5 separate regions of the Homo sapiens genome follow, and regions 1, 2, 4 and 5 are each linked to region 3. Evidence: promoter capture Hi-C in 16 types of primary human blood cells and fetal thymus (Javierre and others, 2016). All regions are on one chromosome and are shown on one strand. The core of a region is centred on a gene start or on the middle of the fragment in contact, and the rest is flanking DNA. Distances in the headings are between cores, read along the strand shown.

Evidence for each region. The method cuts DNA at HindIII sites, captures the fragments that hold promoters and counts their contacts. A CHiCAGO score of 5 or more calls a contact.
Region 1: a contact is called between a fragment that was not itself captured here and the fragment with the promoter of HSD17B10 in region 3, in 1 of 17 cell types (M0 macrophages). The highest score is 5.1, in M0 macrophages.
Region 2: a contact is called between the fragment with the promoter of EBP here and the fragment with the promoter of HSD17B10 in region 3, in 2 of 17 cell types (neutrophils and monocytes). The highest score is 9.9, in neutrophils.
Region 4: a contact is called between a fragment that was not itself captured here and the fragment with the promoter of HSD17B10 in region 3, in 1 of 17 cell types (neutrophils). The highest score is 5.8, in neutrophils.
Region 5: the fragment with the promoter of FOXP3 here is called in contact with the fragment with the promoter of HSD17B10 in region 3 in 1 of 17 cell types (neutrophils); the score reaches 7.0 in neutrophils.

What each region holds. Positions count from the first base shown.
Region 1 is chrX:48,581,773-48,585,710 of GRCh38, forward strand. It overlaps the pseudogene MRPL32P1. Among named protein-coding and RNA genes, the nearest start is that of RBM3, 9.3 kb to the left of the region's middle. The HindIII fragment of the contact is 972 bases long and covers 1,975-2,946 here.
Region 2 is chrX:48,520,558-48,523,495 of GRCh38, forward strand. EBP (EBP cholestenol delta-isomerase) reads left to right here and starts at 1,251. Exons shown (of 5, transcript NM_006579.3): 1 at 1,251-1,350. PORCN (porcupine O-acyltransferase) reads left to right here. Exons shown (of 15, transcript NM_203475.3): 15 at 1-251. RefSeq lists silencers at 92-151, 1,066-1,295, 1,356-1,535. The HindIII fragment of the contact is 9,622 bases long and covers 1-2,065 here.
Region 3 is chrX:53,432,905-53,436,822 of GRCh38, forward strand. It overlaps HSD17B10 (hydroxysteroid 17-beta dehydrogenase 10), which reads right to left and starts at 1,466. Exons shown (of 6, transcript NM_004493.3): 1 at 1,415-1,466; 2 at 818-982. The coding sequence starts at 1,441. The HindIII fragment of the contact is 11,572 bases long and covers 1-2,761 here.
Region 4 is chrX:48,727,100-48,731,275 of GRCh38, forward strand. No RefSeq gene overlaps it. Among named protein-coding and RNA genes, the nearest start is that of SUV39H1, 32 kb to the left of the region's middle. The HindIII fragment of the contact is 4,400 bases long and covers 1-4,176 here.
Region 5 is chrX:49,262,072-49,265,959 of GRCh38, forward strand. FOXP3 (forkhead box P3) reads right to left here and starts at 2,639. Exons shown (of 12, transcript NM_014009.4): 1 at 2,590-2,639. The HindIII fragment of the contact is 2,410 bases long and covers 1,513-3,888 here.

The DNA.
Region 1 (3,938 bases), core at 1,211-3,710, 4.9 Mb before region 3:
TCTTTTTTTTTTTTTTTTTTTTGAAACGGAGTCTCGCTCTGTGGCCCTGGCTGTGGCGCGATCTGGGCTTTCTGTGGCCCAGGCTGGAGTACTGTGGCGCGATCTGGGCTCACTGCAAGCTCCGCCTCCCGGGTTCATGCCATTCTCCTGCCTCAGCCTCCGGAGTAGCTGGGACTACAGGAGCCCGCCACTACGCCCGGCTATTTTTTTGTATTTTTTAGTAGAGAGGAGGTTTCACCGTGTTAGCCAGGATGGTCTCGATCTCCTGGCCTCGTGATCCACCCGCCTCGGCCTCGCAAAGTGCTGGGATTACAGGCGTGAGCCACCGCGCCCGGCCCCTGACAAGCTCTTAAACTAGGGATGGCAAAGGAGGAATCAGGCATTTACAGGACTGGCGCTAGTCAGAAGTAAACGTGGTGGATTGGCATCCAAGATGGAGTAACTTTTGTCTCCACACTCTTGCTGAAGGCTGGAAAATCAGCATGTGAGTCTGTCTTGTAAAAGGTAATTGGGCATGCGCTACTCAAAAAATCATTTGGGGCCCGGTGCGGTGGCTCACGCCTGTAATCCCAGCACTTTGGGAGTCCCAGGCAGGTGGATCACCTGAGGTCAGGAGTTCAAGACCAGCCTGGGCAACATGGTGAAACCCCATCTCTACAAAAGTACACAAATTAGCCAGGCCTAATTGCAGGCACCTGTAATCCCAGCTACTCGGGAGGCTGAGGTGGGAGAGTTGCTTGAACCAGGGAGGCAGAGGTTGCAGTGAGCCGAGATTGCGCCATTGCATTCCAGCCTGGGTGACAGAGTGAGACTCTGTCTCAAAAAAAAAAGGAAAACCATTTGGTAAAGGAGAAAGTGGAGTCCTAGACGGGGGAGTTCAGTGTCAGCCTGCATTGAAATCATCCGGTTTATGGGACTTGGTTGCCTTGTGTGCTGGCTTGGACTCCATGGTATCCAAAGTGCACAGTGCATGAAACATGAAGAATTTGCAACTTAACATCAGTTTATATGTTGCTATCCAAGTTTATCTACCATGAGGCTTAACTCATACAAAAACCTTTACTTAGGGAATGTGCCTACTTGAGAAAGCAAGTTCACCTACTCATCATCCAGCTATTTTCCTTGCTAGTTATCATAGATAACATGAAAAGATTTTTTAGAGTTTACCCATGTCCTTCAAATTATCCCACACAAAACTGCTTAGAATGTGTTAAACTATATTGATGATTTAAAAACAAGCACAACAACATAAAGACAGAATCTTCCTCTATTTCAGGAGAAATGATTTACTGTGAATTTAACCTTTTAACATCTTTGGTGTTAATTGTGGGTGAACCAGGATGGCTGCTTCCTGTCTCGTTCTATGATCCTCACCCTGATCTTGTTCAGACAGCGTCGCTCCCATGTACAACACCATAGTCTCTACAGTGGGAGCCTTAAAAGGGCCCTCTTGTTTCCCTATCTGTCGTCTGACTTCTGCAGTGTCCCTGCCCACCTTCTCATAGCAGTGGCCCCAAAGGACATGTTTCTGTTACAGGTGATCACATTCAGAACAAATGTCTATATTTTTTAAATGTAAGTACATCTGGGCTGGGTGCGGTGGCTCACACCTGTAATTCCACCACTTTAGGAGGCTGAGGCAGGAGGAACGCTTGAACCCAGAAGTTCCAAACCAACCCGGGCAACACAGTGAGGCGCACCCGCCACCTGCCCCCTGCCCCTGTTAAACCAAAATAAAAATTAGCCGGGTGTGATGGTGCACGCCTGTGGTCCTAGCTACTTGGGAGGCTGAGGTGGGAGGACTGCTTGAGCCTGGAAGGTCTAGGCTGCGGTGAGTGGCATTTTGGCCTGGGTAACAGCGAGACCCTGTCTCAATAAAAAAACAAAACAAAACAAAACAAAACCGCGTAATATTCACCCTATATTCACACTGTCAATATTCACACTATAAGATCAATTAATGCCCCTACTATAAGCTTGTTTAGCAAATCTTTTCTTTTACTTTTTTTTTTTTTTTGAGATGACATCTTGCTCTGTCATCCAGGCTGGAATGCAGTGGCATGATCACAGCTCACTCTAGCCTCGACCTCCCAGGCTTAAGCAATCCCCCCACCTCAGCCTCCAGAGTAGCTGGAATTACAGGGATGCATCACCCATGCCCAATAATCTTTTTTGGTTTTTGTAGAGACAGGGTCTCACTATATTTATGTTGTCCAGGATGGTCTCAAACTTCTGGACTCAAGCAATCCTCCTACCTTGGCCTCCAAAAGTGCTAGGATTACAGGTGTGAGCCACCATGCCCAGTCTTATTTAGCAAATCTTTTCTGGATTATTAGTCCTTTTTTGATGGAAACTTTTCACATTAATTTTTTGCCCAGCTCTTTTGAGGTGTGGTTAACCAAAAAAAAAAAAAGTATATTTAAGATGTATAGGCCAGGTGCAGTGGCTCACGCCTGTAATCCCAGCACTTTGGGAGGCCGAGGTGGGTGGATCACTTGAGGTCAGGAGTTCGAGACCAGCCTGGCCAACAAGGTGAAACCCCATCTCTACTAAAAATACAAAAATTAGCCAGGTATGGTGGCGCATGCCTGTAATCCCAGCTACGCGGGAGGCTGAGGCAGGAGAAATTCCATGAAGCCAGGAGGTGCAGGTTGCACTGAGCCGAGATCGTGCCACTGCACTCCAGCCTGGGCAACAAAGTAAGACTCCATCTCAAAAAAAAAAAAAAAAGATGTATAACAGGGTGTTTGATAAATATACACATTTAAAATGATCACTACAATAAAGCAAATTAACACATCTATCACCTTAGTTACCTTTATTGTGAGTGAAATGAGAACACTTAATCATCTACTTAGACAATTTCAAGTATACACCACAGTGTTATTAACTATAGTCACCATGCTGTACATTGGATCTCCAGAACTTACTCATGTTATAACTGAAAGCTTGTACCCATTGACCAAAAATTCCCCCAGCCCTTAGTAACCACCATTGTACTCCATTTCTATGAGTTTGACTTTTTTTAGGCTGCAGATACAAGTGAGATCATGCAGTACTTGTCTTTCTACGAGTGGCTTATTTCACTTAGCATAATGTCCTCCATCCATGTTGCAAATGGCAGAATTTCCTTTTTTAAGGCTGAATAATATTCCACTGTACATATACACATCATTTACTTTATCCACTCATCTGCCATGGACATTTGGGTTGTTTCCACGTTTTGGCTATTGTGAGTAATGCTACAATGAACATGGAAGTGCATATATCTCTGAGATAGTAATTTCATAACTTTTGGATATATACCTGGAAGTAGGATTGCTGGATGCTATGGTAGTTTATTTTTTTTTATTATTATTATTTTTTTAGACAGAGTCTTGTTCTGTCGCCCAGGCTGGAGTCCAGTGGTGCGATCTTGGCTCACTGCAAGCTCTGCCTCCCGGGTTCACGCCATTCTCCTGCCTTAGCCTCCCGAGTAGCTGGGACTACAGGCGCCCACCACCATGCCCGGTTAATGTTTTGTATAGTAGAGACGGGGTTTCACCATGTTAGCCAGGATGGTCTCCATCTCCTGACCTCATGATCCACCCGCCTCGGCCTCCCAAAGTGCTGGGATTACAGGCATAAGCCACCATGCCCGGACTTGGTAGTTTATTTTTAATGTTTTGTGGAACCTCCACACAATTTTCCCTACTAGCTGTACTAATTTACATTCCTACAATAGTGTATAGGAGTTCCCTTCAGCACTTGTTATCTTTCCTATTTTTTTTTTTTTTTTTGACATGGAATCTCACTCTCTCACCCAGGCTGGAGTGCAATGGTGCAATCTCAGCTCACTACAACCTCCGCCTCCTGGGTTCAAGCGATTCTCCTGCCTCAGCCTCCCGAGTAGTTGGTGTTACAGGTGCCCACCACCACACCCAGCTAATTTTTGTACC
Region 2 (2,938 bases), core at 1-2,500, 4.9 Mb before region 3:
TACTCCTTGACCCCCTCCATCCTTGACCCCCAACACCTCAACACACACACACACACACACACACAAAATCACACCATTTTCATGCCTGTCAATCCCCACCCCACCACAAGGCAGGAAGGGGGTGGTGCCTGCTGGGGCCTAGAGGGGGATGCTTGGGGAAACAGAGAAGGGGAGATCCAGGGCCTCCCCGCCTTCCTTCTTCCTTTTTATATACAATTTGTTATTGTCAAATAAAAGTAGGAAATATTCAATAGGCTTCTTCTTCACTGCTCAGAGGGGAATAGGAATGAGTGAGGAAGGGAGCACAGCATGGATAAAGGTTTGGAAGCTGGAAACCATGAAGAGAGAGCAGACTGTGATTGGTTCATGGTTAGTTTATGATTGATTAGATGATGAGCCTGAAGATGGCAGGATCCTGGTCCTGCTTGGTTTGATCAGGGCAGGGACAGATTGCATAGTTGGATGTGGGGGAGGCCTGATTGGCTGGAAAACTGAAGGATCCCCATTCTGATTGGTTGCTCTGAGTGGGACACAGAGGAGAGAAAGCAAGAGAGATGAAGGGTTGGTGCCTATTTATCCTTAGGACTGAGGGTTGTGGGTTCTAATTGGATGGGAGGTCTGGGATGGGTCTGGATTCTGATTGATTGCTCCATCTGGGGGCCCACTGGTGGTTAGGCGTTTGATTGGCTTTTTAGAACTGGCATATGGAGATTGAGGGTCTTCATGCCAATTGGTCAGTAGGACTGAGAGGCCTGGGTTCTAACTAGTTCTTCTGACTTGAGGTCGGGAGAAGAGAGAATGACCGCTGCTATTAGGACTGAGGAGTTCTGAGCACTGAAGAGCTGGGGAGGGGGTGGTTGCAGTGTATAGCGTGTGATCTGCTTGTAACAGTTTCGTTGCATTATACTAAGGGTTACTCTACCTAGAAAAGGGCGGAGGTGAAAGGATGCAACGCAACGCTAATTTCACCAGCGGAAGAAGCGGGTACAGACCTTAATGAGTCCCCGTTTTGATCGACTGATAAGGGAATGGGGAAATTGAAGCCAGGACTCGATGCAGATTGGCTACGGATCCAAAACGCCCACTAACCTTGGCGCGTCCCAGTCTCCACCCCAAACCTAACTCAGGTGAAAATGGCGCCACGCGCGGGGGCGGGGCTAGAGGTACAAAGAGAGTGTCTATTGGTTGGGAGCGGCACGGGCCGCCTTCTTCGCTTCACCATTGGCTCGCTCCGTAAGGCAAGAGAACCCACTAGGGGATGAGCCCGAACTAGGGATGTGACAGAGCGCGAGACCCAGCCTAAAGAGAGCCCGGAGCCAGCGTGGGAGGCCGCTGCCGTCGCGCGCCTTGGTGAGTGCCCTCCACCCGGCCCCTGCTCCCTCCCCCAGCTCTCCCCGGCTACGCGGCCAGCCCTCGGCGTGCCAGCGCGAGACCCTTTGCCACCCGCCCCCCCCACCGCCCTTTTGCGCCTGCGCGAGACCCCCAGCTACCGCACGGTTGTCCAGAGGACAGAAGATCCGTCTTCTCATTGGGCAGCGGGACTGGAGGGTTCTGGTTCGGATTGACCGGCTTTGTGTTCCGTTCTAGCGCTGCACGCCAGACACCGGCCTTTCAATATCCGTCTCTTCCCTGCAGGTTGACGGCGTTGCACGCTCTCGCGGGGAGGCTCTGGCTTTCCAAACGCTGGCACCGAGGGTTGTAGTTCTGATTCGTTTTCTTTCCTCTGTCCCCCAGTTGCAGTTTTCAGGACTACGTGGGGGAGGGAATAGCTTTTTGTTGAACGGTTTAAGACGCTGACCTGTGCAACTGGACCACGCCTGGTTCCTGTGTCTCTTACCAAACCGTGACCCCGGAGCACAGGACTGGGTTTGGTGGTCGTGAGCAGTTTGTGACCCTTGAAGGAAGACACCAGGCCTGGTCCTGTATCTCCCTCGCCAGACTGTGACCAGGGAGGGCTGGGATCAGGTGTTGTTCCCATGTGCCTCCCACCAGACTTTGACCCCCGAGGGCTGAGACCGGGACTGTTTCTACCACATCATAATATGGCTTCTAAAGGGCTGGAACAAGCTTTCAGCCTTTCTGTGGCCTTGTGTTTCAGTCATGTTCTTTTTCTTTTCTTTTTTATTTTATTTTGAGACAGAGTCTCGCTCTGTTGCCCAGGCTGGAGTGCAGTGGCATGACCCCGGCTCACTGCAGCCTCTGCCTCCCAGGTTCAAGCGATTCTCCTGCCTCAGCCTCCTGAGTAGCTGTAACTACAGGCGCACGCCACCACACCTGGCTAATTTTTGTATTTTTAGTAGAGACGGGGTTTTGCCATGTTGGCCGGGCTGGTCTTGAACTCCTGAGCTCAAGTGGTCCACTCGTCTTGGCCTCCCAAAGTGCTGGGATTACAGGCGTGAGCCACCGCGCCCGGCCTTCTTTTTTAGAGGCAGAGTCTCAGACTGGAGGGCAGTGATGTGGTCACTGCTCACTTCAGCCTTGAAGTCCTGGGCTCAAAGCGATCCTCCTGCCTCAGCCTACCTACTAGCTGGGACTACAGGCCTTTGTCACCACACCTGACTGATTTTCTTATTTTTTTAGAGACAGTTTCGCTGTGTTGCCCAGGCCGGACTTGAATTCCTGGCCTCAGGTGCTGCTCCTGCATCAGCCTCCCAAAGCACTGGAATTACCTGCCACGGTGCCTGGCCTTTAGTCATGGTCTTAAAACAGAATGTAGGCCGGGCGCAGTGGCTCACGCCTGTAATCCCAGCACTTTGGGAGGCTGAGGCGGGCGGATCGTGAGGTCAGGAGATCAAGACCATCCTGGCTAACACGGTGAAACCCCGTCTCTACTAAAAATACAAAAAATTAGCTGGGCGTGGTGGCAGGCACCTGTAGTCCCAGCTACTCGGGAGGCTGAGGCAGGAGAATCGTTTGAACCCGGAAGGCAGAGGTTGCA
Region 3 (3,918 bases), core at 216-2,715:
TTGCAAAAACATTTTTCAAATCAATACCTTCTTGATAAATTCACATGCTCCTGAAGATTCTTAATTGCTGTGGATCAGAGCACTAATGCAACCCTGTTGTGAGGCTGGGTGCAGTGGCTCACACCTGTAATCCCAGCACTTTGGGAGGCCGAGGCGGGCGGATCACGTGAGATCAGGAGTTCAAGACCAGCCCGGCCAACATGGTGAAACCCCATCTCTTCTAAAAATACAAAAAAAAAAATTAGCTGGGCGTGGTGGCAGGTGCCTGTAATCCCAGCTACTTGGGAGGTTGAGGCAGGAAAATCGCTTGAACCCAGAAGATGGAGGTTGCAAGGAGCTGAGATTGTGCCACTGCACTCCAGCCTGGGCAACAGAGCGAGACTCCATCTCAAAAATAAAAATAAAAAATAACCCTCTTGTGAGAATTATTGATAGGAAGATAAACTAGCTTTTTTGTATCCTTACCTGCTAAGATGATTTCATCAAGTTTCACTTTCTGTAGTTTGTTTCATGAAAACAAGTTTTTTGACTTTGTAAATATAAAATTACAAGGCACAAAATGCATTTTCAAACCATACATAACTCCTCCAGGAGATTGTTACGTCCAATCCCCATCCTCATTGTTGTGAATCCCAGCTTTAGAGAATCCTTATCACAGGTGGTCCCACAGTGCTTGAAGGCTCAGGCCAAAAGAGACAAGGAGATGGGTCTACCGCCCCCATAGAGGAGACCCTTATGGGAGGGACCCCCACAGGTTCCCAGGCCGGTGTTGGTGACCTCATGCACACCCTGGGAGAGGAGAGGTGACCCCACTTACGTCGGCTGGGGCGAAAACGCAGTTGTTTCCTAACTTCTTGGCTTGGGCCTCCCCACCCGAGTTGGGCAGGTCCAGAAGCACAGCAGAGGCTCCCTGCCCCACAAGTCGCTCCGCCGTGGCCAGGCCCAGGCCCGAGGCTCCTCCGGTTATTACCGCCACCAGGCCCTGTCAAAAGGGACATGGTCAGGGTCAGCTGTTACATTGCCCAGACCATCCCCACGCTGTCGCCTGCCTGTTCTCCAGGCTTCTGAGGAGAAGGGGGGAGGGGAGAGGTCGTGGTCACCCCTGCGGGTAAACTAGGTGTGCTGCTTCTCCTCAGCGTTGGGACCTCGGGGGCAGAAGGGATCTCATCCCCAGACAGCCCGTCCCGTGACGATAGATAGATAGATGATTGATAGATAGATAGATAGACAGACAGACAGACAGACAGATGCGCCGCGGAGTGCTGACTTTCACCTCTTGAGCCCAACGGCCACAATACCAGGCCTACATAAGCATGACCCTTTCCCTCGAAACCGATCTCTTTCTCCTAGTTCCACGGCCGCGCTGTCCCGGCCCGTAAAGGAAGGCAAGCAACAGAGGCAAAGAACCTTCTACCTTCACGCTCCGACACGCTGCTGCCATCTTGTCGCCGGCCACTCCACGGGATGGGGATGGGGGCGCGGGCGCTCGTTGATTGGCCGAGGCGAAGCGGCGGAAGGGGCGGATGCGACGGGCCGGGGCGTCTGCCGCTGCCGCATGAGACGTGGGGGCGTGGCCTGGTACGCTAGTCCTTTGGCCAGAGGGCGGATTCCGCCTGCTAAGGTATCCCCAGAGTTATTTCAACTGGGGAAAGAGACCAATAGCAGAAGTACAATACCACAACACCCCTCGCCCTACTCTCTAGCTGGCCTTTTGGCAAGTGGCCTGCTCCGCGTGGGGGAAGAGGGGTGGATATTGAGAACGGATGCCTTTCTCCTCTGAAAAAGTCTTAATTCAAGTATGAATGTATTTGAGACTCCTATATGCTAGACGGTGTGCGGGGCACCTGGGATACCCAGCGGAATAATAAAAGATTCATGCCTTCCAGGAGGGCACAGTCCAGGTGGAGAAAGAGAATTACAGTACAGACACAGACGAATGGACGGAACCAGATTCTGGGACACTCAGACAAGGAGATCCAAAGATGAGGAGTCTGAGTTAGAGAGAGAGAGAGCCATGTAAAGAGAAATATGTTGAGGCCGAGATAGGAAGAGAGATGCCAGGTAGGATCACAGAGAGATGAATGTGGAAAGCCGCTAAGAGAGATGCTTGGAGACAGACATTCTAGGACAGCTGCTGAGAAGCACAAACCTAAAGAGGCAAAAACATCTTTCATCAGTTCAGGCTTTGCTACTCTCCTCTATCTTTGTCTAATTTAAGTCCAAAAGCCCAGATCACACACTGCAGATTGGACTTCAACCAGAGACTATTATTTAAGACCCAGGTCTTTGTCATCCTAGAACATCTTTCAGGCAGCTTCCAGAAGCTATGTCATTAGAGTCTTGAGCCCAGATATCTAATCTGTCTTCCTTCTATACTTTTCCTCAAACCAAGGTCTTCAGGCCATAAATCTTAGCCCACCATTTCAGCCTCAGAACTGCTTTATGTTTTCTCTATCTGAAATATCTCCCCCCACTTGCTTTCTCACCCAGGAAGATTCCCCTCCAGGCCTTCTAGTTGTTGACAGCCACCACACTCATAATCACTACACCGTATTTACCAAAGGATTTAGCACACCGGTCTCACAATTTTCCTATCTACATGAAGTGCTTCCATCAATTTATAGCACTCTTCATCCGGCCCAATATGCTGTAGCCACAGTGGCCTCCTTTGTGTTCATCTTTGCATTAGCTGCTCCCTCTGCTTGGAATGCTCTCCCCTGATCTTTGCATGACTGCTTTTATTTTTTTTCATTCAGAACTAAGCTTAAATATCACCTTCCCAGAGGGGTCCTCCCTAAATATTCAAACTGTAGCCACCTAGACACTATCCCATTGCATATTTGAATTATCTTCATAGCACTTGCATGTCCGTAATCCATTTTCCAACCTTAGGGCCAGATGTGCTGTGGAATTCAGAGTTTTTTTCAATTTGAGAAAGGAAGACATGTAATTTATATTACATAACTCTTTAAAAAAACTAGTCAAACATAACTTTTTGTATAGTCTATATTATATAACTATTGAGAAAAGCCTGGAGCATCGTAATGAAATATTAATATTTCTGAAGTGAAAGGTATGAAAATTCACACCAAGTGTGAATAAAGACTATAAATAGCCTCACACTACTTCAGGTCAGGTTTTGTCATCTATTGAGTTTGGGCTCCAAAGTATGAAAAAACAACCTTATGCTTTTCAGAAGTTTTGGCATTGCAGGATTGTGCCTACAGGCTTGTGAGCCTGCATGCTCCGCTAACCTGGCCTTGTTTGTGTAGTTCTCCCCCTGCTGGAAGGTAAGCCCCATGGCACCAGGGGCTTGTCCAGCTGGTTCACCTAATGCCGAGAACACTGCTTGGCGTGTACAAGACACTTAAAACAAATGTGTGAAATAAATGAATTAATGAATTAATCTTGGAAGAATTTCCAGGCACAGTTTCATGATTCTTTCACCTGCCCAACTCCGGGAACCTTCACCTCCTCTCTACTTTAACCACCTGTCCAGGCCACCTTATTGCACTTGTCATTCCCTGGAATAACCTCCTGCCCTCCCCAGCATCTACACACCATCTTTTCTCTCTCTGACCATGTTCTCGAGTTGTCTTGGATCTCTTCCCCTCTACCGCTTTTTTTTTTTTTTTTGAGATGGAGTCTCCCGCTGCCCAGGCTGGAGTGCAGTGGCGCATCTTGGCTCACTGCAACCTCCGCTTCCTGGGTGCAAGCAATTCTCCTGCCTCAGCTTCCAGAGTAGCTGAAATTACAGGCATGGGCCACCACGCCTGGCTAATTTTTGTATTTTTAGTAGAGATGGGATTTTACCATGTTGGCCAGTCTGGTGTTGAACTCCTGACCTCAGGTGATCCGCCCTGCCTCAGCCTCCCAAAGTGTTGGGATTACAGGCATGAGCCATCGCGCCCAGCCTCA
Region 4 (4,176 bases), core at 865-3,364, 4.7 Mb before region 3:
CAGGAAGATTACTTGAGATCAGGCGCTCAAGACCAGCCTGGTCAACATGCACAAACATGCCCGTCTCTACTAACAATACAAAAATTGGCCGGGTATGGTGGTGCATGCTTGTAATCCCAGCTACACAGGAGGCTGAGGCAGGAGAATCGCTTGAACCCAGAAGGCAGAGGCTGCAGTGAGTCGAGATCGCGCCACTGCACTCCAGCCTGGGCGACAGAGCGAGACGCCATCTTAAATAAATAAATAAATAAATAAAAATTAAATTCTGCAGTATATACCACAAACAGATCAGAGACTTCACATACTGGGAAATCAACTCAGAAATGAATCAGTCCTCTCAAATTGTGACATACCACCCAAAAGAGACAGGAGAGTTCATATCCTTGGGAATAAACCTGTAAAAAAAAAATAGGGGCCTCAAATCACAGAACATACACTGTCACACAGTTGAGAGACCTCATGTTTGGAAACACACTGAGGAATAGATGAAATACCTCACACATCCTCGAAAAGATCAGACATTACATCATGGGACATACACCTGCAAACAGATTGATGATGCCAAACTGTAGGAATTAAATCCACAAACTGATCAGAGACCTAATATGCAGGGACATATAATCACAAATAGATCAGAGACCTTACATTTTTTACATGCACCCATGAAAAAGATCTCACATACCAGGATACACAATGATACAACGATAGCCACGGACCTCACACACAACAAGAAAAAGGTCATAAGCCTTATATCCTAGTAAATAAACCCCCAACCAGCTCAGGAACCTCTCACTGTGGGACATACTCCACAAACAGATAAGAGAACTCATACCTAGGTTCATACAATCACAATCATATCAGAGAACTTCTATTCTTAGCATATACCCATGAAAGATGCTTCACATACTGATAATTACAATGACAAACACATCACAGACCTAAAATCCTGGGACATACATGCACAAACACAGATCAGATCAGTGACCTCACACACTGGGACATACATCCACAAACATGTCAGAGATCTTCTATTCTAGTAAATACATCTACAAACATGTCAGAGACCTCAACCTCACATCCTGGGACATACTTGCAGAAATAGCCCAGATACCTAAAATTTCTGCATAAACCATCCCTTAATTTGCATGTAACTAAAAGGTGGGCATAAATATGACTGCAGAACGGCCTCTGAGCTGCTACTTTGGGCATACTGCCTATGGGTAGCTCTTCTCTGCAAGGAGCAGCACATCTGCTCCTGCTATACACTGCCGCTTCAATAAAAGCTGCTATTTAACACCACCAGCTCACTCTTGAATTCCTTCCTAGGCAAAGCCAAGAACCCTCCTGAGCTAAGCCTCAACTTTGGGGCTTGCCTGTCCTGCAACCAGATGAAAGATCTCAAACTCAGTGTATCCATGAACAGATCAGAGACCTTACATACAGAGACATATGTGGGCACATGGATCAGAGACTTCTTACTTGGGAACATACATCCAGAAACAGACCAGAGACCTCATATCCTGAGAAATACACCAACAAACTGACTTTGACATACACCAATGAAAATCACATACTAGTATACAGCAACAAATGGATCAGAGACCTCACATCCTGGGAAATATACCACCAAACAAATCAGACATCTCACACCTCTGCATATATACCATCAAAGAGCTCAGAGACTTCACACCATGGGACTTACACACCCAAAAAGATCAGATACTTAAATCCTAGCTCATATAACCACAAACATACTTGAGAACTCACTCTGAGCAATCCACCCCCAAACAGATTAGAAACCTCATATCCTGGAACATATAGCCACAAAAATATCAGAGACTTCATACCCTTGACACTTCACATATACAGGAACATATACAGGGATAAACAGATCTGAGACCTTACATGCACCCACTAGGAGCTCAGGGAACTCACATCCTGGGAAATATACCCACAAACATTTTGGAGACCTCATACCCAGAGATGTACACCCACAGTCATAGCAGAGACCTCATGCCCTAGGACATACACCCTCAGACAGAATAGTCCTCATATTCTCCAACACACACCAAATAAACAGATTAAAGTACTGACATCCCTAAAAAAATACAACCAGAAAAGCTCAGAAATATAACATCTAGGGAAATATAGCCACAAAAAGCTGAGACTCACACCTTGGCACATACACCCACAAAGAGATCAGAGATCTAACATTCCGGGACATAAAACCAAAAACAGATCAGAGACCTCAAACCCTTGACATGCATTCATGAAGAGAGACCTCACATCTTGTCATTGTATAATGACAAGCAGATCAGAGGCCTCATACCCTGGGATGAATACTCACAAGCACATTGGAAACCTTACACCATTGGACATATACCCACAAACAGAACGGAAACCTCAAATATACTTCCAAATGGATCACAGAACTCACATCTTGGAATATATACCCACAAAAAAATCAGAAATCTCTTATTCTGGGAAATATAGACTCAAACAGATTAGAGACCCCACAACTTTGGACACACACGATCAAAGGGCTCAGATACCTTACACCCTGGTATATACACCCATGAACAGAGATCTCATATACTGTGACATAAATGTCAGGGATACTCACAAACAGTTTGGGAGCCTTACATCCTGAGATATATACTCATAAACAGTGCAGAGTACTGATTCCCTCTGCCCTCAAACTCAGAAATATCAAAGTCGGGACACAGGTTCTCAAACACATTAAAGACTTCATATCCAGGGACTCAGTGGCCCAAACAGCTGACACCTAGTGTTCTGGATGCAGAATCCAGTCACCTTGGTGATGTCTCTTCCTGGGACTTAGAAATCCATATACCTCAAAGAATAAACAGAAACAATACACCGTCCTCCAAAGAGTGCATGGATGTGAACCTGGGACACAGACTGCCAAACACCCCAGTGACCTCATACCCAGAACAGACTGCCAGAGAGCTCAGATAATTCAAATTCTGGACTTGATCACGTTCTGAACATGAACAGAAAAAAACAGCCCAGAATCCCCATGCTTTGGGACATAGATTCCCAAATAATTCAGAGATCTAAAAACCTAGAGAGAGAACCCCAAAAGGTCACTTAAAAATGCGAAACATAGAATGCCCAAAAGACCCAGACATCATGGCATGGATACAGACCACGAAAAAGCTCCAAAGTCTCGAACTCCAGACAGACCATCAAAGAGCTCAGAAACACCTCTTATGAGTTATCTATTGCCACATAAAAAATAACCCCCAAATTTACCGGCTTTTGGCTGCTTGAGCATCCTCGAATGATGGCTGGCTTCTACTAGTCAGTGATCCAAGAAAAAGTACAGCAGAAGCCATAAGTGCCTTTTAAATTTCCCTCTAGGTAAGTACTGCTTTGCTGCATCCCACAAATTTGGTAAGTTTTATTTTGATTTTCATTTAGTCCAAACTATTTTTTATTTCTCTTGAGACTACTTTGAGCTACTGGGGCCCTGCATCCTCCCCTAAAGTCTTTCTCTGGAGCTCATACCCTGCCTCTCACATAAATGTATAAACCCGTCTCATAAGCACAGTTTTCAGAAGAGGAACAAAGTTTTTTCTCACTGTGCATCCTTGCCTCATGGTGCACAATCTATTATGCATGTTCTCAAGAGAACAACTGAAGTAAAACTGTGGATTTACTAGAGATGAAGACACAATTCTGGGGAGTGTTTACTCTTTCTTAAACCCAACATACATTTACATTAAACAACATGTGCACATGATTCCTAAGTTCCAACTGAGACAGTCCCAAGCCCACACTGGCCCCTGGCATTTATATGGATTGCTTGCTTCCCTTCCCCCAGCCCTGAATTCTACTTTCAGAAGGGGTGTGGGATTAGGGGGAAGGGACTGAAATCAGGAGAGCGTGTGTGGACTGTGCATTGTCCTACCGATTCTTACCAGTCTTGTAAAAACCTCAGCAGCTCAAGGTTTAGATGATCCAAAACGCTAGACTCTCCTACCATCCAACCAGGACTTGGGGGTTCCAGGCTTTGAAAGAGGGTCTATCAGGCTCCAAAGTCCATGTGTTCTGGGTTATCATCAGTGTGATCAAAGCCTAAGGGGAGATGGACTCCAACATCCATCTGAGCAACGTCCATCCTGAGAGATGGGGGTCCCCACTCAGTGGCTG
Region 5 (3,888 bases), core at 1,389-3,888, 4.2 Mb before region 3:
GCGAGCAAGAGAGAACAAGAGATAGTGAGAGACATTGAGAGAAATGGACACATGCATGGAGAGCCAGAGTGCATGTGTGCGAGAGGAGGATTGCCTCAAATAAGAACATTTGCTGGTCTCTGGCTGGTTCAACTGATGCTGCCTGAAATAATCAAGAATAAAGAAGGGCAAGGTGCCAGGGACACCCATGGCTGGGTATTGAATTGTATTGCAAAGCAACAATCAGCAAAACAGTGTGGCCCTGGTATAAGAACAGATACTGGGGAAGAGAACAGAATAGAAAGCTTGGACATGGACCCACATATGGAGAGAACTGAATTTGTGATGAATGTGGCATTTCAAACTGGAGGACCATGGAGTATGGTTTAACAAATGTGTCTGAGATAATTAGGGAGAAGATAAAGTTATTGAGTGAATAGTCAGTCCATTATCCCAACAACCCCTCCCTGCCCAGTTTGAAATGTCACCATCATCATATACCCTAAAATGCCCAGATCCATTCAAGATATAAGTTTTAACACCTAATGCTGATCTTGGGTTTATTGTGTGTCAGGCCTTGTGCTAAGTATTTACTGTGGTTAAAAATTTTAATCTAAACAAAGACTCCTGAGGAAGGTACTATTATAACCATTGCAGTACATATGAGGAAATGGAGGTATGGAGAGGTTAAGTGCCTGGCTAAAAATCACACATAGGGCTTGGGGTGACGCTGGGTTTGTCCCAGACAGTCTGGCTCCAGTACCCACACTCTTAACCTCTATAGTAAATGGAAAAAATGAAGCCATAAAAGAGACTAGAAGCCAACATAGGTGAACATTTATCTCATTTTCAAGTAGGAAAGGACTTTCTAAGCACAAAACCAGAGACAGAAGCCACAGAAAAAAAGACTAACCTATTTGACTGTATAAAACCATCATAAGCATCACAAAAAACACCATAAACAAATAGAAAAAAAGCAAATGATGAATTGGGGAAAATATTTGCTATATATGTAATGGCTGATGAAAGGTTAATAACCATTCCAAATAAAGAGCTGTGGCAAATCAATAAGGGAAAAATAAGATGAACACCCTATTAGGAGTAAGGACATGACCAGACAACCAAAAAAAAAAAAAAAAAAGCATGAATGGCCAATGAATAGTAAAAGTAATCACAAGATGCAAATTTCAACAATGTGATAATGTGTTTTTCTTACCTGTCATGTTGGGAAATAATTAAAACATAATAATACTCACCTAGGGTTAGCTTAAGTAGAGGGAGCATAAAATAGGACAACCTTTTGGAAGGAGAATTAGCAGAGAGGGTCATAAACTTTAAAAATGCACGCCCCCTTTGCCCCAGCAACTCCCTTTTCAGGAATCCAAGGAAGCAGTCAGGGATGTTTATAGAAAAAAACGAGAAACAACCGGAATGTCCAACAATCGGCACTTGGTCAAATCAATCAAAGTTCATGCTGATGTGAGGACAGTCTTGTCCATCATGAAAGATCATGTGTTCAAACAATTTTTAGTAAGCTTCAAAAACACTACTGTTAATTGAATAAAGCAGGAACAAAACCAATATATAGCATGATTCTAATTTGGTTACAGAAATACTAATAGCTAACACTTCGTGAGCACTTACTTTGTGCCAAACGCTGTGCTAAGCCTGCAGAATCGAGCTCACCCCAGCCCTGAACAACCTGTTTGCTTCCTGAATATGGACTCTGGTCACACACATGCAGTCCTGGGGTAGGTCCACACAGCTAAACTACGGTTGACAATGGTGTGAAGTGCTCCCTGCCCCCCCGCCCCAAGGGTCTCCTCTAAAGCGATACAAGCAAAGTTCAGTTAAGTGCTCAGCTTGCCCCGGCACCTTGCAATCCTCCTGCTACTAGGGTGAACAGAACTGATGCTCACTCTCATAAAATGTAAAGGTCCTCGGCGACATTACTATTATTAAACGCCAGCTGTGTACAAAGCTCTAGGCTGGATGCTGGCTGGGAAGGCAGGTGGGGGAAGGCAAGAAAAGAGAGCGGGAGAGATGGAGGAAAGGAGATCGATGGAGTGTGGTCAAGATGGAGGAGACAGAGATAGGGGAGATGGTCAGAGGCCAGGAGAGATGCGGGGAAAGAGAGTCTGAGTGTAGCGACAGACAGATGGCGGGAGAAAGAGAGGCAGAGAAACATGTAAAAGAGCAAGACAGGGTGAGCAGAGAGACAGAGAAGGATGAGAGGCATCAAGAGCTAAGAGACAAAGAGATGAGAGAGATGCAGTTGAAATTTTCAGTTGCACCTGGACAGCATTTCAAGTTGTTCAAAGCTCTGAAATCCATAAAGACTGGCAGCTGACATATTTTAAAAATCCTATCCATCTACGTATCAATTGATGAATTCATTTATTTTTGCCCCTGCCCATGCATTAAGTACTTCACCTTTAAGTCTTCTGCCATTTATTCTATTATTTTTTTAAAGACCTTACCTGGCTGGAATCACGGTAGCTGGGTACATCCCACTGTACCAGAGGGCCCCTGACCCCCCCGCCGTGCCTACCTCCCTGCCATCTCCTCCAATGGGGCCCACATCTGGTAGGGGAGAGCAGGGACACTCACCTTGGTGAAGTGGACTGACAGAAAAGGATCAGCCTGGCTTGTGGGAAACTGTCACGTATCAAAAACAACTTTGCTTTTATACCGAGAAGAAAAACCACGCTGTACGGTGTGGAAGCCGCAGACCTCTCTCTTCTAATAATCCAAATTTTTTTCGATGAGTGTGTGCGCTGATAATCACGGGGTGGGGAGGGGTTCTCATAGTTTTTTTTTTCTCTCTCTCTGTGTTTCTCCTTTTCTTGATTATGAGACTTAAACGGAAATTTTGAAATTTTGGGTTTTTTTCTTTGCCCTTTACGAGTCATCTGAAAATATGATTTCTTCCCCTCACCACAGAGGTGAGAGGTATCAATGAGATAATAGGGCTCATGAGAAACCACAGTTTTTAAAACAAAAGTGTATAGAGTTTGAAAAAAAAAAAACAAGGGAAAAGAACTAAAATAAATCACAGGGCCAACCCGAGGCAGGCAGAGACACCATTCTGTGAGTGAGAGGATATTTGAGGGTCTCTGGGGAAAGAAAGAGAATCTGAAGCTCTATGTGTGGATGGGAAATGCCAGGGAAAGAGACAGAATAGGGCTGGGTTCCCAGAGGCCTCGCCCTACTCCAGGCCTCAGTTTCCCTATAGATGGAATTGATATGGTCCCCATTGCTTGAACTACCCGGCGAGGGGAGTTCTGCACCCCCTGCAACACCCCTCCCACAGAGGGTGAGGGGCATGTAAGTTACTTCATGGAGGAGAAAGCGGAGAGCCCACTGTCATCCCCTAAAATTCATGGACTTGAAGAGTCGGAGAATCCCTGGCTCCCAGAATCTACTGACAGTTACTGAATGAGGAAAGAGAGAAAAGTCTCGCCTCATCACGTTTTAGGGCTTGAGTGCCCTGACCCAGCCACTGTCCCACTGGGAAGGTCCCTAGCAGGTCCCCAATATTAATGCATCCATCCTCACGATGAACCCCAGAGGCCCATTGGGACCCTGACCCTCTTGTTTCAGGAACATCATGGCCTGATGCTTCTGAGGCCCTCAGCCTTTGGGGTCTTTTACTTCAAAAAGCCCCAGTTTCCAAGGATTTAGGATTCCAAATATCCGCCATCATCTCAGTAGCTGATGTTTATCTTGAATTTTCCATGGGTCAGATACAGTGCTGAACATGTCTCACAAGTGATCATGTTCAATCCTCACCATGGCCCCTTGAGCTCCATCTCATCATTATTGTATTCCTGTTATACAGATGAGGGAAACGGAGGTATAAGTAGTCAAGCAACTTGCCCAAGATCACAGAGCTGGCGAGTGTGGGTC